6 separate regions of the Homo sapiens genome follow, and regions 2, 3, 4, 5 and 6 are each linked to region 1. Evidence: promoter capture Hi-C in human tissues and cell types (Jung and others, 2019). All regions are on one chromosome and are shown on one strand. Each heading gives the region's core, a stretch centred on a gene start or on the middle of the fragment in contact. The rest is flanking DNA. Distances are from core to core; before and after follow the strand shown.

Region 1 (3,453 bases), core at 631-3,130:
ATGTACATGTTTTATAGACACCAATTTTAAAATTCTCAATCTGTATAATTTAAACAAGTTTTTAGTTATTAGATTATATACAGGGAAGTCAACATGTCACAACTAATCATATCCAATGAACTCATCCACTGATCTAAACCCAGTCTCTCGCCCCATTTTTTCTTTTGAGACAAGATCTCGCTCTGTTGACCAGGCTGCAGTGTAGTGGCATGATCTCAGTTCACTGCAGCCTGGACCTCCTGAGCTCAAGTCATCCTCCTACCTCCACCTCCAGAGCAGCTGGGAGTACAGGTGCACACGATTATGCCCCGTTATTTCCTTTTTTTTTTTTTTGGCAGAGATAGGGGTCTCACTATGTTGCCCAGGCTGGTCTCGAACTCCTAGACTCAAGCAATTCTCTTGCTTCAGTCTCCTAAAGTGTGGAGACTACAGGCGTGAGCCACTGTGCCTAGCCCCCCTTTCTTCATTACTGCGCTTCCCTCCCTAATTCTGTACATATCTCTCATTCTCCCCCTTCTCTCTCTAGCTCTTGTTTTCTTTTCTTTCTCCCTGGGATTCTGCTCTTCATTTTGTACCCCTCTTCTCTTCTGCTGTTTATCCCCCTTCTTCCCTCTATTCCTTCTCTTCCATCTCTTCTGCTCCATCCTCGCAACTTATTTAACCTCTTATTGCTCCTTCTCCCCAATCTTTCAATCGTCCTCAATCTCCATCTATTTCTGCCTCTTCACCCATCTCTGCGCCTCCTCTGCTCTCCCTGTTAAATTCTCTCTTCCCTGATATACTCCCCTGTCCCCACTCTGTGTCACCCCAGATCCCCAGGTGTCCTCCCTGCTGTGTTTCTCCCTCGGTTCTCCTTGACACCAGCACCACTCTGCTCTGTCTGCCCTGGCTCCAAATCCCTCCCTCTCTCCCTCACTCTGATGAGCCTCCCTCTTTGCTGCCACTCTCCCTACCTTGCCGTCCTTCATCTCTGTGTACATCTAGCTTTTCTCTACATTTCTCCAGTTGCTTTTCTCCACCTGCTTTTCTAGGTATTTTGTTGCTTTCTTTTTCCACTTTCACCATATCTTGGCATATCCCTCACCAATCCTCTATTTTGCCATCTGTTATGGGCCTTTCTTATTCTTTCTCTGTCTCAGGTTTTCTACTGCTGTCTGTCTCCTGATCCCTTCGGCCCACACAATCGCAGGAGGGTTTGGAGTAAGACGCCTGCATCCCGGAGGAGCGCGTTTTCCAAGGGCTGGAGCTCGGCAGGCAAGAAGACCCCATGTCACAGGACAGGGCCCTGCGTCCTTCCCAGTGTGGGTTCAATGGAAGCGGTGACTGCGGAGGAGAGACCTGGGGAGCCGCAGGCTCTGGCACGAGTAGGGAGGTGGGAGGAGGGGGGACGGCGCCTTGGGAGAAGGATGGGGTCTGCAAGATCCCAGGACCAGGCAGAGGACGCGGCCTCCCTGGGACTGGGGCTGCGGCGCGACGCTCCAGGGGCCGACGAGGGGTGGCTGGGAGGTGCGCCCCGGGCAAGAATCCACCTCGTGGGTGAAGACTTTAAATAGCGCGAGGAGGGAAGAGTCAGAAGAAGGTTTTGAGCAGAAAAACTACGCAATAGAAAGTGTATACATTGCCCTATAGCAGACAGACCCGGGACGGGACCAGCCTCCAGACGACTTTAAACCCGAAAGGAAGCGACACCCGGCCTCTCACTGGGCTGTCTCAATTTGCTCTGGGCGAAGGAAGACGGGCGAGAATTTCCAGGTCTGTGGGGACCCCACGTCCCAGGGACAGAAGCGGCGGGGACCTGGGAAGCGGAGACTTAATGCAACACAGAGCAAAACTCACCATGGCGACGTGACCTTCACTCCACCCGATCCGCTTCCGGGTTTGCGTTAATCTCCGCGCGCAGGACGGAAGCCAGGCCTGGGCGGGAGGTGGGAGGAGGTGGGCGGGGCCTGGGCGAGGTAGCGGCGGGGCGCGAGGCGCTGAGACCTTGCCCTTTAGAACCGGCAGAGGGCGGGGCCGGGGCGGGGCCGGGGCGGGACTTGCGCGTCTTTCAGCCTCTCTCCTAGCGTCTCTGTTTTTAGGTTGTGGAGGCGAGAGCGCCAGAAAGTCTGAGGCATGATTCCAAAGCCCTGGAATTGTCTGGAACCGGGATGCAAACTAGAATGTGAAATGCAAAGCCCTGCCTGGGCGGCATGTACGATGTCATGGTGACGGCCCACGGAACAGAATAGATGTCCTCTCCCTTTCTATCTCCATTCACTAGGGAGGGAGAGTCCACCCTGAGCTCAGCTTCAGAGACTTCCTTAAAGCCACCGCCAGGGGTGCGGGACGGAGTGCTTAGGCCAGGAAGGAGTGAGGTCACCACCTGCTGCTTAAACACAGCAGAGGCGCGGGGGCGGGAGCCTCAGGTCCCAGCTACTCAGGAAGCAACGGAGAGAATTGCTGAGCCTGGGGTCCCAAGCCAGCCTGGGCGACAAAGTAACACCCACTGCGGCAGGTCTCCCTTCCTAGTCTCTCTCTCTCTCTTTCCCTTTTTTTTTTTTTGGAGACAGAGTCTCACTCCGTCGCCCAGGCTGGAGTGCCGTGGAGTGATCCCAGCTCACTAGAACTTCCGCCTCCTGGTTTCAAGCGATACTCCGGCCTCAGCCTCCCGAGTAGCTGGGACTACAGGCATGCGCCACCATGCCCAGTTAATTTTGTATATTTAGTAGAGACAGGGTTTCACCATGTTAGCCAGGCTGAACTCCCGACCTCAGGTGATCCGCCCACGTCGGCCTCCCAAAGTGCTGGGATTACAGGCGTGAGCCACCGCGCCCGGGCCTTTTCCCTTTTTAAAAAAAAAAAAAAAACTTTTTTAAATAAAATTTTTGATGGTGTGACATAGGGATCCAACATTACTCTTTTCCATGTGGATATCCAGTTAGTTGTCCCAGCACATTTGTGGAAGAGATCTATTACTTTATTATTATTATTATTATTATTACTATTATTGAGACACAGTATTTCTGTTGCCCAGGCTGGAGTGCAGTGGCGAGATCTCAACTCAATGCAGCCTCTGCCTCCTGGGTTCAAGCGATTCTCCTGCCTCAGCCTCGGGAGCAGCTGGCATTACAGGCGCGTGCCACGATGCCCGGTTAATTTTTGTATTTTTCATAGAGACGGGGTATCACTACGGTGACCTGGCCGGTATCGAACTCCTCACTTTAAGTTATTTGCCTGTGTCAGCCTCCCAAAATGCTGGGATTACATGCGTCAGCCAACATGCCTGGCCCAAGAAATATTCTTTACTTTGCTTTTTAAATGTTGACAAAATATAATTGAAAACTAAAAAATATTATCCCAAATGAGAAATCATCTCCACGACGATAACAGAGAAAGAAATAAAAACCATTTTGTTAATAAATAAACCTTAGGACCGGGCATGGGGGCTCACGCTTGTAATCCCAGCACTTTGGG
Region 2 (3,453 bases), core at 322-2,821, 220 kb before region 1:
CTGCAAGCAGAGGTTGCCAACGCAAGACTGGCAATAGCATCTGATAAGATTCAAACCTCTACTCCTTTTCATTATTTAGAGATGCAGATAGAAAATAGAAAAATTAAGCCACAAAAAGTAGAAATAAGAAAAGACACATTAAAAACATTAAATGACTTTCAAAACTTGCTAGGAGATATTAATTACATTCAGCCAACTCTAGGCATTCCTACTTATGCCATGTCAAATTTGTTCTCTATCTTAAGAGGGGACCCAGACTTAAATAGTAAAAGAATATTAACCCCAGAGGCAACAAAAAAAATTAAGTTAGTAAAAGAAAAAAATCAGTCAGCACAAAGGTCCCTTAACCCCACTCCAACTTTTGATTTTTGCTACTGCACATTCTCCAACAGACATCATTGTTCAAAATACTGATCTTGTGGAGTGGTCATTCCTTCCTCACAGTACAATTAAGACTTTTACATTGTTCTTGGATCAAATAGCTACATTAATTGGTCAGGCAAGATTACAAATAATAAAATTGTGTGAAAATGACGCAGACAAAATAGTTGTTCCTTTAAACAAGGAACAGGTTAGACAAGCCTTTATCAATTCTGATGCATGGCAGATTGGTCTTACTAATTTTGTGGGAATTATTGATAATCATTACCCAAAAACAAAAATCTTCCAGTTTTTAAAATTGACTACTTGGATTTTACCTAAAATTACCAGACATAAACCTTTGGAAAATGCTCTGACAGTGTTTACTGATGCTTCCAGCAATAGAAAAGCAGCTTACACAGGGCCAAAACAGCGAGTCATCAAAACTCAATATCAATCGGCTCAAAGAGCAGAGTTGGTTGCAGTCATTACAGTGTTATAAGACTTTGATCAACCTATTAATATTGTATCAGATTCTGCATATGTAGCGCAGGCTACAAGGGATGTTGAGACAGCTCTAATTAAATATAGCATAGATGATCAGTTAAACGAGCTGTTCAGTTTATTACAACAAACTGAAAAAAAAATTTCCCATTTCATATTACTCATATTTTAGCACACACTAATTTACCAGGGCCTTTAGCTAAAGCAAATGAACAAGCTGACTTACTGGTACCATCTGCATTCATAAAAGCACAAGAACTTCATGCTTTGACTCATGTAAATGCAGCAGGATTAAAAAACAAATTTGATGTCACATGAAAACAGGCAAAAGATATTGTACAACATTGCACCCAGTGTCAAGTCCTACACCTGCCCACTCAAGAGGCAGGAGTTAATCCCAGAAGTCTATGTCCTAATGCATTATGGCAAATAGATGTCACACATGTACCTTCATTTAAAAGATTATGATGTGTCCGTGTAACAGTTGGTACTTATTCACATTTCATGTGGGCAACTTGCCAGACAGGAGAAAGTACTTCCCATGTGAAAAAACATTTATTATCTTGTTTTGCTGTCATGGGAGTTCCAGAAAAAAATCAAAACTGACAATGCACCTGGATACTATAGTAAAGCTTTCCAAAAATTCTGAAATCAGTAGAAAATTACACACAAAACAGGAATTCCCTATAATTCCCAAGGACAGGCCATAGTTAAAAAAACTAATAGAACACTCAAAACTCAGTTAAAGAGAAGGGGGAGACAGTAAGGAGTGTACCACTCCTCAGATGCAACTTAATCTAGCACTCTATACTTTAAATGTTTTAAACACTTATAGAAATCAGACTACTACCTCTGCAAAACAACATCTTACTGGTAAAAAGAACAGCCTACGTGAAGGAAAACTGATTTGATAAAAAGACAACAACAATAAGACATGAGAAATAGGGAAGGTGGTAACGTGGGGGAGAGGTTTTGCTTGTGTTTCACCAGGAGAAAATCAGCTTCCTGTTTAGATACCCACTAGACATTTAAAGTTCTACAATGAACCCATTAGAGATGCAAACAAACAAAAAAAAAAGCGCCTCCACAGAGACGGAAACACCGCAATCGAGCACCATTGACTCACAAGATAAACAAAATGGTGATGTCAAAAAAACAGATGAAGTTGCCATCCACCACGAAGGCGGAGCTGCCAACTTGGGCACAATTTAAAAGCTGACACAGTTAGCTTAAAAAAGCCTAGAGAACACAAAGGTGACACAAACTCCAGAGAACACGCTGCTTGCAGCTTTGATGATTGTATCAACGGTGGTAAGTCTCCCCACGCCTGCAGGAGCAGCTGCAGCTAATTATACCTACTGGGCCTATGTGCCTTTCCCGCCCTTAATTCGGGCAGTCTCATGGATGGATAATCCTATTGAAGTATACGTTAATAATAGTGTATGGGTACCTGGCCCCACAGATGATCGTTGCCCTGCCAAACCTGAGGAAGAAGGAATGATGATAAATATTTCCACTGGGTATCATTATCCTCCTATTTGCCTCGGGAGAGCACCAGGATGTTTAATGCCTGCAGTCAAAAATTGGTTGGTAGAAGTACCTACTGTCGGTACCACCAGTAGATTCACTAATCACGCGGTAAGTGGAATGTCACTCAGGCCACAGGTAAATTATTTACAAGACTTTTCTTATCAAAGATCATTAAAATTTAGGCCTAAAGGAAAGCCTTACCCCCAAAAAATCCCAAAGGATCAAAAGACACAAAAGTTTTAGTTTGGGAAGAATGTGTGGCCAATAGTGCGGTGATATTACAAAATGATAAATTCGGAACTATTATAGATTGGGCACCTCGAGGTCAATTCTACCACAATTGCACAGGACAAACTCAGTCATGTCCCAGTGCAGAAGTGAGTCCAGCTGTTAACAGTGACTTAACAAAAAGTTTAGCCAAACATAAGCACAAAAAATTGCCGTCTTTCTACCCTTGGGAATGGGGAGAAAAAAAAATCTCTACTCCAAGAACAAAGATAATAAGTTCTGTTTCTGGTCCTGAACATCCAAAATTATAGAGTCTTACTGTGGCCTCATACCGCATTAAAATTTGGTCTGGAAATCAAGCTATAGAAACAAGAGATCGTAAGCCATTTTATACTATCGACCTAAATTCCAGTCTAACAGTTCCTTTGCAAAGTTGTGTAAAGCCCCCTTATATGCTAGTTGTAGGAAATATAGTTATTAAACCAGACTCCCTTGTTGCCCATGTTGGTCTCAAACTTCTGGGCTCAAATGACCTGCCTGCCTCAACTTCCCAAAGTGCTGGGATTACCCAGCTGGGCCACGACTCCCGTCTGATCTTGCAATTTTCCAGAGGAGGAAGACCAAGGCAGCCTATTGGCCCTTCCAGGCCATCTCGTGGGAGTCAGCCACACCTATTTTCTACTCACCTCAGAGCTTCTCAGGATAACTTGGTGAAATGTCTCCCGTTGTGAGCCTCAGTGAGCCCCCCTTAACATAGAGGTGAGGAATAAGACTGGAAAAGCTCAGTCACAGTGACAGTGACCCCTGAAATGACTGGCAAAATACAGTGTG
Region 3 (3,453 bases), core at 305-2,804, 210 kb after region 1:
TCAGAAAAACAATACATGAGAAGGAGGATATTAAACAAAGGAGGAAACAAAAAACATTCTGGAGCTGAAACACAATAAATAAAGTAAAAATTCATTAGGTGCTCAACAGCAGATGGATAGAGCACCAAAAAGAATGAGCAAACTTAAAGGTCAGTTATTCAAAAGTATCAGCTCCACCAGGCACAGTGGCTCACGCTTGTAATCCCAGCACTTTGGGAGGCCAAGGCAGGAGGATCACTAGGTCAGGAGTTTGAGACCAGCCTGACCAACATGGTGAAAGCCTGTCTCTACTAAAAATACAAAAATTAGATGGACATGGGGGCATGCACCTGTAATCCCAGCTACTCAGGAGGCTGTGGCAGGAGAATCGCTTGAACCTGGGAGGCAGAGATTGCAGTGAGCCAAGATGGAGCCATTACACTCCAGCCTGGGCTACAGAGCAAGACTCTAATTTAAAAAAAAAAAAAAAAAAAAAAAACACAGTATCAGCTACAAAGACCAAAAACAAAAAACAGAGAAGAAAAGCAAATAAACGCTAATACATTTTTCGGATGCTCTCAAGCACAACAACATACAAATTATTAGAGGTTCACAAGGAGAAGACAGAGGATCAGAAATTGCAACTGAAGAAATAATGTCCAAATAATTGTCCAAATCCCAATTCTGAAGAAAGACCTGAATATACAATTCAAGAAGCTTGACCATTCAAATTAAAATGAACCCAAGGACATTCACACAGAGATACATTATAAGCAAATTATCAAACATCAAAGACAGAGGAAGAATTTTGACAGGAGCAACAAAAAAGATATTTGCCATTTAGAGGAAAAGGTATAAGACTATGTACTTTCTCCAGCGGAAACTTTGCCTGCCAGAAGGCAGTGAGATGACATATTGAAAGTGCTTAAAATCAACCAAGAATACTATATTTAGCAAAAGTCACCTGCAAAAATAAAGGAGAAATTTAGATTTTCCTCGATAAAGAAGAGCTAAGAAAGTTCATTACTACTCTAGACCTGTCCAACAAGAAATGCTACAGGGAGCCCTTCAAAATGAAATAAAAGGATTCCAGACAGTACTGGTAACCCAAATGAGAGGATAAAATTCTCCATTAAAGTAAAAAATGACCCAGGTGTGGTGGCTCACACCTGTAATCTCAGGGTTCTGGGAGGCCGAGGCGGGCAGATTGCTTGAGGTCAGGAGTTTGAGACCAGACTGACTAACGTGGTGAAACCCCATCTCTACTAAAAATACAAAAATTAGCCAGGCATGGTGGCACATGCCTGTAATCCCAGCTACTCGGGAGGCTGAGGCAGGAGAATCACTTGAACCCAGGAGGCAGAGGTTGCAGTGAGCCAAGATCTCACTGCTGCACTCCAGCTTGGATGACAGAGCGAGAATCCATCCCCCCATGCAAAAATGAAAAAAAAAGCAAGAATAGAGAAGCCAGAAACAAACCCTCAAATACTTGGTAGAATAATGTTCAATCAAAATGTCAAGACCATGTAACAAGGAAAGGACAGTCACTTCATCAAATAGTGCTGAAGAAAAAGGATGCCCACAAGCAAAGGAATGAGGCTGAACCCTTACTTTACACCCCATGCAAAAATTAACTTAAAGTCTATTCATGACCTAAAACGATAAAACTCCTAGAAAAAACCATAGGTAAAAAGCTTCATGAGATTGGATTCAACATTTCCCCAGATATAAAATTGATAGTACAGGAAAGAAGGTAAATATACACACGATGCACTATGACAAAATTGAGAACTATTGTGGATAGAAGAAAACAATTACCACAATGTAAAGAAAACCTACCATATGTGAGAAAATATTTGCATATCATATCTGTGATAAAAACTTAATATCTAAAATATATATAGGCCGGATGTGGTGGCTCATGCCTGTAATCCCAGCACTTTGAGAGGCTGCAGCAGGTAGATCACCTGAGGTCAGGAGTTCAAGACCAGCCTGGCCAACATAGTGAAACCCCATCTCTATTAAAGATACAAAAATTTAGCCAGGCATGGTGGTGTGCACCTGTAATCCCAACTACTTGGGAGGCTGAGGTGGGAGAATTGCTTGAACCTGGGAGGCGCAGGTACCAGTGAGCCGAGATCACGCCACTGCATCCAGCCTGGGTGACAGAGCAAGACTCCGTCTCAAAAAATAAATAAATAATTATTTAAAATAATAAAATAAAAATATATAAATAAGTCCTACAAAGCAAAACAAATAACGAATTAAGAAATGTGGAAAGAAATACACATTTTTCCAAAGGTGATATACGACCATATAAGAAAATGCAAAATATCACAAATCATTAGAGAGAAATGCAAATAGAAAACTGAATATTTTTCCTCACACCAATAAAGAATATCACCTCACACCCATATAGAATACGTTTTGTCAAGAAAAGGGAAAAAAATGAAACACCAGAAAATCACAAGTGTTGTCGAAAATATGGAGAAATAGGAGAATTTTGTGCCACTGTTGGTGGAAAATTGAAATGGTGCAGTCACTATGGAAACAAGTATGACATTTTCTCAAAGAATCCAAAATCAAATGATCAGTATAGGCAACAATTCCACATCTGGGTATAAAGATAAAAAAGAAAAAGGCCAGGCGCACTGGCTCACACCCTTAATGTTACTACTTTGGGAGGCCTAGGCAGGCAGATCACCTGAGGTGAGGAGTTCGAGACCAGCCTAGTCAACATGGTGAAACCCTGTCTCTACTAATAATACAAAAATTAGCTGGGCGTGGTGGCACACACCTGTAATCCCAGCTGCTCAGGAGGCTGAGGCAGGAGAACTGCTTGAACCCAGGAGGTGGAGGTTGCAGTTAGCCGAGATTGCACCATTGCACTCCAGCCTGGGCAACAAAAGCGAAACTCCATCTCAAACAAACAAATGAAAAATAAAATGAAAGTAAACACAGCATCTTGAAGAGATACTTAAAAACCCATGGTCAAGGCCAGGCACGATAGCTCACGCCTATAATCCCAGCACTTTGGGAGGCTGAGGCAGGTAGATCATGAGGTCAGGAGTTCAAGACGAGCCTGGCCAATATGGTGAAACCCTGTCTCTACTAAAAATACAAAAACTAGCTGGGTATGGTGGTGTGCACCTGTAGTCCTAGCTGTTTGGGAGGCTGAGGCAGGAGAATCGCTTGAACCCAGAGGGTGGAGGTTGCAGTGAGCCAAGATCACGCCACTGCACTTCAGCCTGGGCGAGACAGTGAGACACTGTCTCAAAAAACAACAACAACAAAAACCCATGTTCATAGCAGCATTATTCAAAAATAATAAAAAGGTGGGCGCAATGCAGGTGTCCACCAATGGATGAATAGTTAAACAAACTGTGGTACAGACAAATAGAAGAATATTATTCAGTCCTAAAAGAATATACAAATTTCTTGATGTGCTACAAAATAGATGAACCTGAAAGACAC
Region 4 (3,453 bases), core at 323-2,822, 180 kb before region 1:
TACCTTGTATGCCATCATAGAGTTCATAGTGGTGAGAAACCTTACAAGTGTAATGAGTGCAGCAAGACCTTCAGTCGCAGGTCATCCCTTCATTGCCATCGTAGACTTCATAGTGGTGAGAAACCTTACAAGTGTAATGAGTGTGGCAATACCTTCCGTCACTGCTCATCCCTTATATACCATCGTAGACTTCATACTGGAGAGAAATCTTACAAATGTACAATTTGTGACAAGGCTTTCGTGCGTAATTCACTCCTGTCAAGACATACCAGAATTCACACTGCAGAGAAACCTTACAAGTGTAATGAATGTGGGAAGGCTTTTAATCAACAATCACACCTTTCACGTCATCATAGAATTCATACTGGAGAGAAACCTTAGAAATGTGAAGCATGTGACAAAGTTTCCATTTGGAAATCACACCTTAAAGACATAGGAGAATTTATACTGGAGAGAAAGCTTACAAATGTAAGGTTTCTGACAAGACTTGGGAGTGATTCACACCTGGAACAACATACTGGACTTCACACTGGAGAGAAACCTTACAAGTGTAATGAGTGTGGCAAAGCCTTTGGCAAGCAGTCAACACTTATTCACCATCAGGCAATTCATGGTGTAGGGAAACTTGACTAATGTAATGATTGTCACAAAGTCTTCAGTAATGCTACAACGATTACAAATCATTGGAGAATCCATAATGAAGAGAGATCTTACAAGTGTAATAAATGTGGCAAATTTTTCAGAGATCGTTCACATATTGCAGGTCATCGGTGAACTCATACTGGAGAGAAACCTTACAAATGTCATGACTGTGCCAAGGTCTTCAGTCAAGCTTCATCCTATGCAAAACATAGGAGAATTTATACAGGAGAGAAACCTCACAAGTGTGATGATTGTGGCAAAGCCTTTGCTTCACGTTCACACGTCATTAGACATCAGAGAATCTATACTGGACAGAAATCTTACAAATGTCATCAGTGTGGCAAGGTCTTCAGTCCAAGATCACTCCATGCAGAACATCAGAAAATTCATTTTTGAGATAACCGTTCCCAATGAAATGAGTATAGCAAACCATCAAGCATTAATTGACATTGGAGTCAATTCAGCATTGACTTGAGTTTGTGTTGACTTAACATTGAGTTCAAGCCTTTATTGACATTCAAGTGTTTATGTTAAGAGGATGGGGCCAGGTGTGGTGGCTCCGACCTGTAATCCCAGCACGTCGGGAGGCCAAGGCACATAGGTCACTTGAGGTCAGGAGTTTGAAACCAGCATGGCCAACAGATGTGAGCCACTTTTCTCAGCCTGTTTTTTGTTTCTTATTTTCTATTATTTTTTTGAGCCAGTACTTTTTAAAGAGATAGTACTTTTTTCAGTTAGTACTTTTTGAAAGGGATATATCATAGTAATTTTTAAAAGGGATATGAGGCCAGGCACGGAGGCTCATGCCTATAATCCCAGCACTTTGGGAGGCCGAGGCAGGCAGATCACGGGGTCAGGAGATCGAGACTTTCCTGGCTAACAGGGTGAATCCCTGTCTCTACTAAAAATACAAAAAATTAGCTGGGCATGGTGGCTGGCGCCTGTAGTCCCAGCTACTCCAGATGCTGAGGCAGGAGAATGGCATGAACCTGTGAGGCGGAGCTTGCAGGGAGTCGAGATCGCACCACTGGGCTCCAGCCTGGGCGACAGAGTGAGAGTCTATCTCAAAAAAAAAAAAAAAAAAAAGGATATCAAAGCCTCGGTACGTGGTGGCTCATCCCTGCAATCAGAGTACTTTGGTCGACCCATGTGAACTGGTCACCTAAGGTCACAATTTCAAAAGCACCCTAACATGGTGAAACCCCATCTCTACTAAAAATACAAAAGTTAGCCGGGGGTGTTGGTGTGCACCTTTAGTTCCAGCTACTTGGGAGGCTGGGGCATGAGAATTGCTTAAACCTAGGAGGTAGAAGTTGCAGTGAACCAAAATTGTGCCACTATACTGCAGCCTGGGTGGCAGAGTGAGTCTCCATCTCAAACAAACAAAAAATAACAAAAAAAGACCTCAAAAATGCTTTTCTTCTCGTATAATGGACTTCCTTCTTTTTCTTTCTGGTTCCTCTTCATTTCTCTCTTTATTTTTTATTTATTTATTTATTTATTTTGCAGTTTGAGTTTGAGATAAATCTAAGTTATAAAAGTTGTATTTCTTAATACATAATGACTTCTGAAAGATGCCTTTGCAGCATCCTATAATCAGCTCACATCATTCGTTTCTGTACTTGTATATTTTCCAGTTATTTTCCGGTTGACCCCAGAATTCGTTAGATTTTTTTAAAAAACAATTTCAAAATAGTTGCTGTTTTAAATTAGTTGCATCCAGTTCATATCAATGTCTGCATGCTTTCTAGTCTTTGTTATTTATTGAAAACCTTTGGTACCTAAACTTAAGTTTGATTGTTTCAGTGTGTACTTGGTAAATATGTCAGTGGCCTTTTAACTAAACATCAAAATGTACTTTAACCAGTTAGTCTGTTTTTCAGTTTTCTTTCCTTATGTCCTTTGTTAAAATCTTGATCTGGGAGCTATTTATTGCGTGTTTCCCTCAAGGCCCTCTGGTCCATTCTGGAAAAATGTTGAAACATGGGCTGGATTGGCATAGAACGCTCCTCCAAAAGCACCCGTGTATTCTTTTCTTTTCTTTTTTGAAATGGAATCTTGCTCTGTCGCCTTGGATGGAGGGCAGTGGTGCAATCTCAGCTCACTGCAACCTCTGCCTCCTGGGATCAAGTGATGCTCCTGCCTCAGTCTCCTGAGTAGCTGGAATTACAGGCACCCACCAGCATGCCTGGCTAATTTTTGTATTTTTAGTAGAGACGGGGTTTCATCACGTTTGTCAGGCTGGTCTCAAATCCTGACCTTGTGATCCACCCGACTTGGCCTCCCAATGTGATGAGATTACAGGTGTGAGCCACTGCTCCCAGCCTCGGTTTTTTTTTTGTTTTTCTTTTTGTTTTTTTGGGGGTTTTTTTTTGAGATGGAGTTTTGCTCTTGTTGCCCAGGCTGGACTGCAATGGTGCGATCTGGTGTCACTACAACGTCTGCCTCCTGGGTTCAAGTGATTCTCCTGCCTCAGCCTACCAAGTAGTTGGGATTACAGGTGCCCTCCACCACTCCTGGCTAGGTTTTTGCATTGTCAGTAGAGACAGGCTCTCACTGTGTTGGCCAGGCTGGTCTCAAACTACTGACTTCTGGTGATCTGCCCACCTCGACCTCCCAAAGTGCTGGGATTACAGGCGTGAGCCACCGTGCCTGACCACTCATGTATTCTTGATTGAAACAATTTGCTTATGTCTTAGTTGTACACCTGACCTTCTTTCCCTGTTTCCAAGGTCAATAGCTATGTGTTCACAACTCTGCATTTTATAAATGTTACTGTGATTTTCTTGTAAGGAAGAACAAACTGTCAGG
Region 5 (3,453 bases), core at 414-2,913, 160 kb after region 1:
TAGCAAACATGGTGAAACCCCATCTCTACCGAAAATAAAAAAATTAGCCAGGCGTACTGGTGGGCACCTGTAATCCCAGCTACTTGGGAGGCCGAGGCAGGACAATCACTTGAACCCGGGAGGCAGAGTTTGCAGTGACCTGAGATGGTGCCACTGCACTCCAGCCTGGGTGACAAAGCGAGACTCCAGCCTGGGTGACAAAGAGAGACTCCATCTCAGAAAAAGAAAAAAAAAAACATCAAACAATAACAGATCAGCATCAAAAGTAAATTGACAGACAATGACCTAACTGAGTATAGTTAAAATAAGTTCCGGGATTAAAATCAAGAAACTGTCGCACATGTATCCCCATAACAGGTTACTATCCTTACAGCCATAGACTCACTATCATAACAGTGTAGAACAATTTTAAGGTCATGAAAATATATAAGATGTAATTTCAACTGTTAAAAGATATAAGACGTATATAAACTGATGATGCGCCTTTGATAAAAACAATAGACTTGCTCATCTGTGCACTCATCCACACACATCACATGTACACACTTATTCATATACATATATACATTCACACACATATACTCTAGTAAACATATATGTGACAACTGAAAGAGTTGTCTGTCAATAACCTCTTTTTTAGATATTTGTCTTTGTTCGTTTTTTAATGTGTCCAGGTTGCAGTGCAGTGGCTTATTCATGGCACACTACAGCCTTGAATTCCTGGCCTCAAATGACACCCTCTCCGAGTAACTCGAATGACAAGCGTGCACCACTGTGCCTGGCTGTCGTTGTTTTTGCAAATGTGCATTTCAGCATGTTTGCAACAATAAAAATGTATAAACTGTGCTCAATTCAGTTTATAAACATTATTTCAAACTATTTCAAAAAGTCAGACCATGTAAAAACATAGAAACGAGAATTCCAATCTCTATTAAATACCCGTACTGAAACATATGTTTCAAAAATTGAGATGGGGGTCTCACTATGTTGTCCAGAGTGGTCTCAAACTCCTGTGCTCAAGGAATTCTCCAGCCTGGGCCTCCGGAGAAGATGGAATTCCAGCCCCGGCCCATAAATATTAGGTTGGTGCAAAAGTGATCGCGGTTTGCCATTACTTTTGCACTAACCTAATTTTGTCCACTAAATATTTATTTAGGTGTTAGCAAAAGCCCAATGGAGGCTGAAACATCACAATCAGCAGTAAACATCAGATCGATTTCCTCTCATTTAAGGCACAGAAAAGGGGGCAGGCCTGTGAAAAGAGGGCGAGGCTTGGGGGACCGGAAAGACGTGGATCCATCTCGCGGGTGAGAACTTTACGCAGCGCGGGCCGTGTCTAGGGGTCACTGAAGGATTTGAAGCAGGCAAACTCCGCGACAGGAGCTGTCTACATGGCCCTGTGGTGAAAGACCGGGGACAGGACCAGCCTCCGAGCGATTTTAACACTCAGGGAAGCGACCGCCAGACTCTCATTAGAACGTCTGAGTTTAGTCGGGGTGGAGGGAGCGATGCGGGGATTTCAAGGTCTGTGTGACCCCTGAGATGCCGGGTACAGAAGCGCGAGGGGACTCAGCATCCCAGATTTAATCTAAACAAAGGGAAACTCACACGCCGCAGCATGACCGTCACTCCACGTAATCTGCTTCCGGGTCTCCAGGAAACTGCGCGCGCAGCTGAGAGGCGAGGCGAGGCCAGGCCCGGGTGGGATTGGGCGGAGCCTGCGCTTCCCTCCGCCTCGCTCCCAGCTCGTCTCGTTTTGGAGGCTAGACCTGCCGTGGAGACTGGAAGAACTCAGCTATCTGGAAATAGATTGTGTCCCGGCAGAGGGAAAGTTTGTTGATGATTAGATCCAGGAAAATTCCTGCTATTAAAATTAATTTTAAATCGGCTGTAGGGGCGCTCGCATGTGGTCCTAGCTACCCGGATGCTGAGGTGGGAGGATCGCTTGAGCCCATGAGGTGGAGGCTGCAGTGAGCCGAGGTCGTGCGCTGCACTCCCGCCTGGGCATGAGAGAGAAACCTTGCGCCTAATAAATACATAATCATAAATAACAAATTGGAAATAAATAATTAAAATAAATAAATATAAATGAATAATAAACACTAGTTTCCGGAATTTTAAAGTCCTTGAATTGTTTATGAAGGGGATGCAAATTAAAATATGAAATGCAAAACCCTGCCAGGGCGGAATGTGCAATTTCCTTTTTTTTTTTTTTTTTTTTTTGGAGACAGAGTTTCGTTCTTTTGCCCAGGCTGGAGTGAAGTGGCGCGATCTCGGCTCACTGCAACCTCCGCCGCCTGGGTTCAAGCGATTCTCCTGCCTCAGTCTCCCGAGTAGCTGGGATTACAGGCGCCCACCACCACACCGGGCTACTTTTTTGTACTTTTAATAGAGACAGGGTTTCTCCATGTTGGCCAGGCTGGTCTTGAACTCCTGACCTCGTGATCCGCCTGCCTTGGCCTCCCAAAATGTTGGGATTACAGGCGTGAGCCACCGCACCCGGCCAAGTTTTTTTTTTTTTTTCATATTTATATTAATCCTAGTGTATACCTGCCATTGTCTTATGGACATACTCAGGTCACAACTTTTTTTTTTTTTTTTTTTTTTTTTTTGAGATGGTCTCCCTCTGTCTTTCAGGCTGAAGTGCAGACAGCTCACTGACTGCAGCCTCGACCTCCTGGCATCAAGTGATCCTCCCATCTCAGCCTCCCAAGTAGCTGGGACTACAGGCACACGCCACAATGCCCAGTCCCATGTCACAAAATTTTGTCTCCAAACAGCACTCATTTATTTGTCCCCTAAAGTTTTCACCAGAGCAAAACAGGGAAGAAATGTATTAAACATAGAATTTGGAGGCAATGTAGGAAAAAAATGTAAAAATATATATACATACAAAAAATATAAAAATATACATGCTAGGTGTGAATTGTAACTAAGTTTCCAGTATGGGTAGTGGGTATCCCCGCCCCAGCCCTACCCTTTAGCAATCATGACACCCCAAGCCAGTCACCTATCCCAGTTCTCTGAAGCCACTTTTGGACCAGCTGGAAAAGTATACCCTGCTTTCCCCCACAGAGCCTCATTATATAATAAACACTCTCAAACCATATCAGTGTATGGGATCATCATTCTCAAGATCCAAGCCAAACCTTAGGGGGACTTCAAACAAGTTCCAGAAGAGTGGTCAAAAATTCAAATTACCAAAAGAGTTGTGAGGGTGACTATATGAAGTTTCTAGTTAATGTACCAAAACAAAATTCCCTTTCTGTGTGTGACTTAAAAAGAAGATGGGTGAACATTAATATTTTCAAATGATGTCACTGAACACTAGAAGTACAAAAAGAAATTGTGTTACAGTATTATTATTATTTTTTTTTTTTTGAGACGGAGCCTTGCTCTGTCACCAGGCTGGAGTGCAGTGGGGTGATCTCAGCTCACTGCAACCTCTGCCTC
Region 6 (3,453 bases), core at 695-3,194, 150 kb before region 1:
GTTTAATAAGATTTGTCAGCCTTCAGTGACATTGGTGATTAGATGCCCCTTTTCCTGTGTCACTCATTTCACTGTCTTGTCAGAAATAGCTTAGAGTAGCTGGCCGTGGTGGCTCATGCCTGTAATCCCAGCACTTTGGGAGCCCAAGGTGGGTAGATCACTTGATGTCAGAAGTTTTAGACCAGCCTGGCCAACAGAGGTTAGCCACTTTTCCCAGCCGGTTTTTTGTTTCTTTGACAAAAACTGATAGGGATTTGTATGGGCGTTGTGTTAAATCTAAATCATCTTGGGTTGTATAATCATTTAACGAGATTAAGTTTTCCAATCTATCAATATTGGTTGTATCTCTATGTTTTTAATCATTTTGATCAATGTTCATAGATTTCAAGGTAGAAACTTCTCGCATTTTTACGTTTATTCCTAAGTATATCTTAGTTTAAATTCTCTAGAAAATGGAAGTGTTTTCTTAATTTCCTTTTAAAATTTTTTACTGTTATTGCATGGAAATTCAACTAATTTTGGTGCTAATATTGTACTCTGCAAATCCACTGAATGTTTATTAGTTCCACTTGTATTTTGGTTGAGTCTTTGTGACTTTCTACACAGAGGATCGTGTCATCTACAAACAAATAAAATTTTATTTATTTCTTTCTGATTTGGATGAGTTTGATTTCTTTTGCTATTTCATTGCTCTGGCTAGGACAGTCAGTATTGATTGAATAGAAAGGGTGAGAACGTTCTAGCATCATGTGAGATCCTACAGGAAAAGCATTCAATTTTTCCTGATTGGTTATTTCAGCTGTGGTCATTTCATGGATGGTCTTTTATATTGTTGAGGTAAATTTCCTTCTTTATTTTGTTTAGGGTTTCTATGATGACAGGATGGTCCTAAGTCTTCACACATCAGGGCCACAGCCCCAACCTCACAGGAAACAGGTGATCTTTTGAAAGGCTTAAGGCCCAAGAGTTCATTTGAGGGCTTTTTAACCTGTGGATTTGGTCTAGAGCCATATCAGAGGGTTGTGTCTGTGTGAGTGTGCAAATGTGTGGTGCTTTCCAAGTTCAGTTGACATTGGTAATTTTTTTTTTTTTTTTTTTTTTTGAGATGGAGTCTCACTCTGTTACCCAGGCTGCAGGGCAGTGGCATGATCTCGACTCACTGCGGCCTCCACCTCTCAGCTTCAACCAATTCTCCTGCCTCAGCCTCCCTAGTAGCTGGGATTACAGGCACACACCACCAGGCCCGGTTAATTTTTTGTATTTTTAGTAGAGATAGGGTTGCACCATGTTGACCAGGCTGGTCTCGAACTTTTGACCTGAGGTGATTGGCCCACCTCAGCCTCCCAAAGAGCCACTGCTCCTGGCCTAATAATTTTTTATTTATTTATTTTTTTGAGTTGGAGTCTCACTCTGTCACCCAGGCTAGAGTGCAGTTGCATGATCTCTGTCTCCAGAAAAAACAAAAAACAAAAAGATAATATTTGCATCGTTATTGGCTCATTTTTGATTACTTGGGAAAACAGCTTTCAAAAGCTTAAGGTTTTTAAATACATGTGACTTTCTATATTTTTTTTCTGATGTTCTGTTTATAGCATTTTGTGTGTGTGTGTGTGTGTGATGGAGTTACACTCTTCTTGTGTACCCTGGAGTGTAGTGGTGCGATCTCAGCTCACTGCAACCTCTGCCTTCTTGGCTCAAATGATTCTCCTGCCACAGCCTCCTGAATATCTGAGATTACAGGCATGCGCCATCACCCTCGGCTAATTTTGTATTTTTTTAGAGACAGGGTTATACCATGTTGGTCAGGCTGGTCTCGAACTCTTGACCTCAGGGGATCCACCCATCTTGGCTCCCAAAGTGCTGGGATTCAAGCATGAGCCACTGTGCCCAGCCATTTGTTTAGTTTTTTGAGATGGAGTCCAGCTCTTTCGCACAGTCTGGAATGCAGTGGTGCAATCTCCACTCACTGCAACCTCTGCTCCCTGGGTTTAAGTGATTCTCATGCCTCAGTCTCCTGAGTAGCTGGGATTACAGGCTCACATCCAGTTTTTTTTGTATTTTTGGTAGAGACAGGGCTTATAGGTTTGAGCCACCACACCTGGCCATCCCCATTTTTATATGTACAATTTAATCATTGACTACAGTCATTCTGTTGTGTTATGAAATAATAGGTCTTATTCTATTTTTTGTACCCATTATCATGTTCTATTTATTAATTATTTCTGATTAAAATAAACTTTTTTGCCATGCACGGTGGCTCATGTCTGTAATCCCAGCACTTTGGAAGGTCAGGATTTGGAGACCAGCCTGGCCAACACGGTGAAACCCCGTCTCTACTAAAAATACAAAAATTAACCCAGCATGATGGCGAGCACCAATAATCCCAGCTACCTGGGAGGCTGAGGCAAGAGAATCATTTGAACCCAGGAGGCAGATGTTGCAGTGAGCCGAGACCGTGCCATTGCACCCCAGCCTAGGCAACAAGAACCAAACTCAATCTCAAAAATAAATAAGTAACTTAATTAATTTTTAAAACATAAAGATGAGGTGCTATGTTGCCTAGGCTGGACTCCAACTGTTGGGCACTAGCCATCCTCCTGCCTCAGCCTCCCATCATGCTCGGATTACAGGCACAAGCCACCATGCCTGACGACATTATGCTTTTTTAAACTTGCTAATATTCTAGATATGCTAATTTCCCTTCTAAATGTAATCATATTTTAGCTAATTACTAGTGTTTGATAGATGAATTCTTCCATAGCTAGGGATGTGGGAGAAAAACATAGTTCATAGTACATGTTAACTTACAGATATAGTCATAAAAGTATTACATGCAGAAATGAGGTGATTTATAATTTCATTTTATTTTTATTTTTATTTTTTTGAGACAGAATCTCACTCTTTTGCTCAGGCTGGAGAGCTGTGGTGAGATCTTTGCTCACTGCAACCTCTGCCTCCTGGATTCAAGAGATTCTCCTGCCTCAATCTCCTGAGTAGCTGAGATTACAGTTTTGTGCCACCTTACCCAGCTAATTGTTGTATTTTTAGTACAGATGGGGTTTCACCATGTTAGCCAGGCTAGTCTCAATCTCCTGACCTCTGGGTCATCCACCTGCCTCGACCTCCCAAAGTGCTGGGATTACAGGTGTGAGTCAATGTGCCCAGCCAATTTTATAACTTAGTTATATTTTTTCAGGGCCCAAGTAAAACGGAATAACTTGACTGCAATGTATTCTTAGTAATATTTCATGATCTTTCTCTATATGAAAATAAATCCTAACATTTAAAGACTGCATATTTTATAGCCTTTGTTATTCCCACCTGATAGAACACTCAGGAGAGAATAACAAAGAAAACACCTAAAATAGATTGCAATTGGATGGGTGTGGTGGCTTGCCTGTAACCCCAACACTTTGGGAAGCAAAGGTGGGTTGATCGCTTGAGTCCAGGAGT

What was found. The method cuts DNA at HindIII sites, captures the fragments that hold promoters and counts their contacts. A contact is called where the count stands out against the background at its distance.
Region 2: a contact is called between a fragment that was not itself captured here and the fragment with the promoter of ZNF808 in region 1, in 2 of the 25 tissues and cell types used here (hippocampus and neural progenitor cells).
Region 3: a fragment that was not itself captured here is called in contact with the fragment with the promoter of ZNF808 in region 1 in 3 of the 25 tissues and cell types used here (adrenal gland, lymphoblastoid cells and mesendoderm cells).
Region 4: a contact is called between a fragment that was not itself captured here and the fragment with the promoter of ZNF808 in region 1, in 2 of the 25 tissues and cell types used here (H1 embryonic stem cells and stomach).
Region 5: the fragment with the promoter of ZNF880 here is called in contact with the fragment with the promoter of ZNF808 in region 1 in 1 of the 25 tissues and cell types used here (liver).
Region 6: a fragment that was not itself captured here is called in contact with the fragment with the promoter of ZNF808 in region 1 in 9 of the 25 tissues and cell types used here (H1 embryonic stem cells, adrenal gland, aorta and 6 more).

The regions. Positions count from the first base shown.
Region 1 is chr19:52,526,095-52,529,547 of GRCh38, reverse strand. It overlaps ZNF808 (zinc finger protein 808), which reads right to left and starts at 1,880. Exons shown (of 5, transcript NM_001039886.4): 1 at 1,837-1,880. RefSeq lists enhancers at 1,607-2,434, 2,435-3,261. The HindIII fragment of the contact is 14,459 bases long and covers 1-3,453 here.
Region 2 is chr19:52,744,682-52,748,134 of GRCh38, reverse strand. It overlaps LOC105372452 (a long non-coding RNA gene), which reads right to left and starts at 3,395. Exons shown (of 2, transcript XR_936060.3): 1 at 3,309-3,395. The HindIII fragment of the contact is 5,759 bases long and covers 1-3,453 here.
Region 3 is chr19:52,316,837-52,320,289 of GRCh38, reverse strand. All of the region lies in intron 4 of ZNF480 (zinc finger protein 480), which reads right to left. Among named protein-coding and RNA genes, the nearest start is that of ZNF610, 18 kb to the left of the region's middle. The HindIII fragment of the contact is 6,068 bases long and covers 1-3,453 here.
Region 4 is chr19:52,701,865-52,705,317 of GRCh38, reverse strand. ZNF611 (zinc finger protein 611) reads left to right here. Exons shown (of 6, transcript NM_001161499.2): 6 at 1-2,505. The coding sequence ends at 381. Among named protein-coding and RNA genes, the nearest start is that of ZNF611, 31 kb to the left of the region's middle. The HindIII fragment of the contact is 3,945 bases long and covers 1-3,453 here.
Region 5 is chr19:52,368,133-52,371,585 of GRCh38, reverse strand. It overlaps ZNF880 (zinc finger protein 880), which reads right to left and starts at 1,663. Exons shown (of 4, transcript NM_001145434.2): 1 at 1,609-1,663. The coding sequence starts at 1,620. RefSeq lists enhancers at 1,222-1,361, 1,562-1,671, 1,682-1,981. The HindIII fragment of the contact is 7,170 bases long and covers 1-3,453 here.
Region 6 is chr19:52,671,665-52,675,117 of GRCh38, reverse strand. The region is part of intron 1 of LOC122539214 (Zinc finger protein LOC122539214); the gene reads left to right. It also overlaps a transcript of ZNF83 not described here. Among named protein-coding and RNA genes, the nearest start is that of ZNF83, 35 kb to the right of the region's middle. RefSeq lists an enhancer at 609-1,108. The HindIII fragment of the contact is 8,097 bases long and covers 1-3,453 here.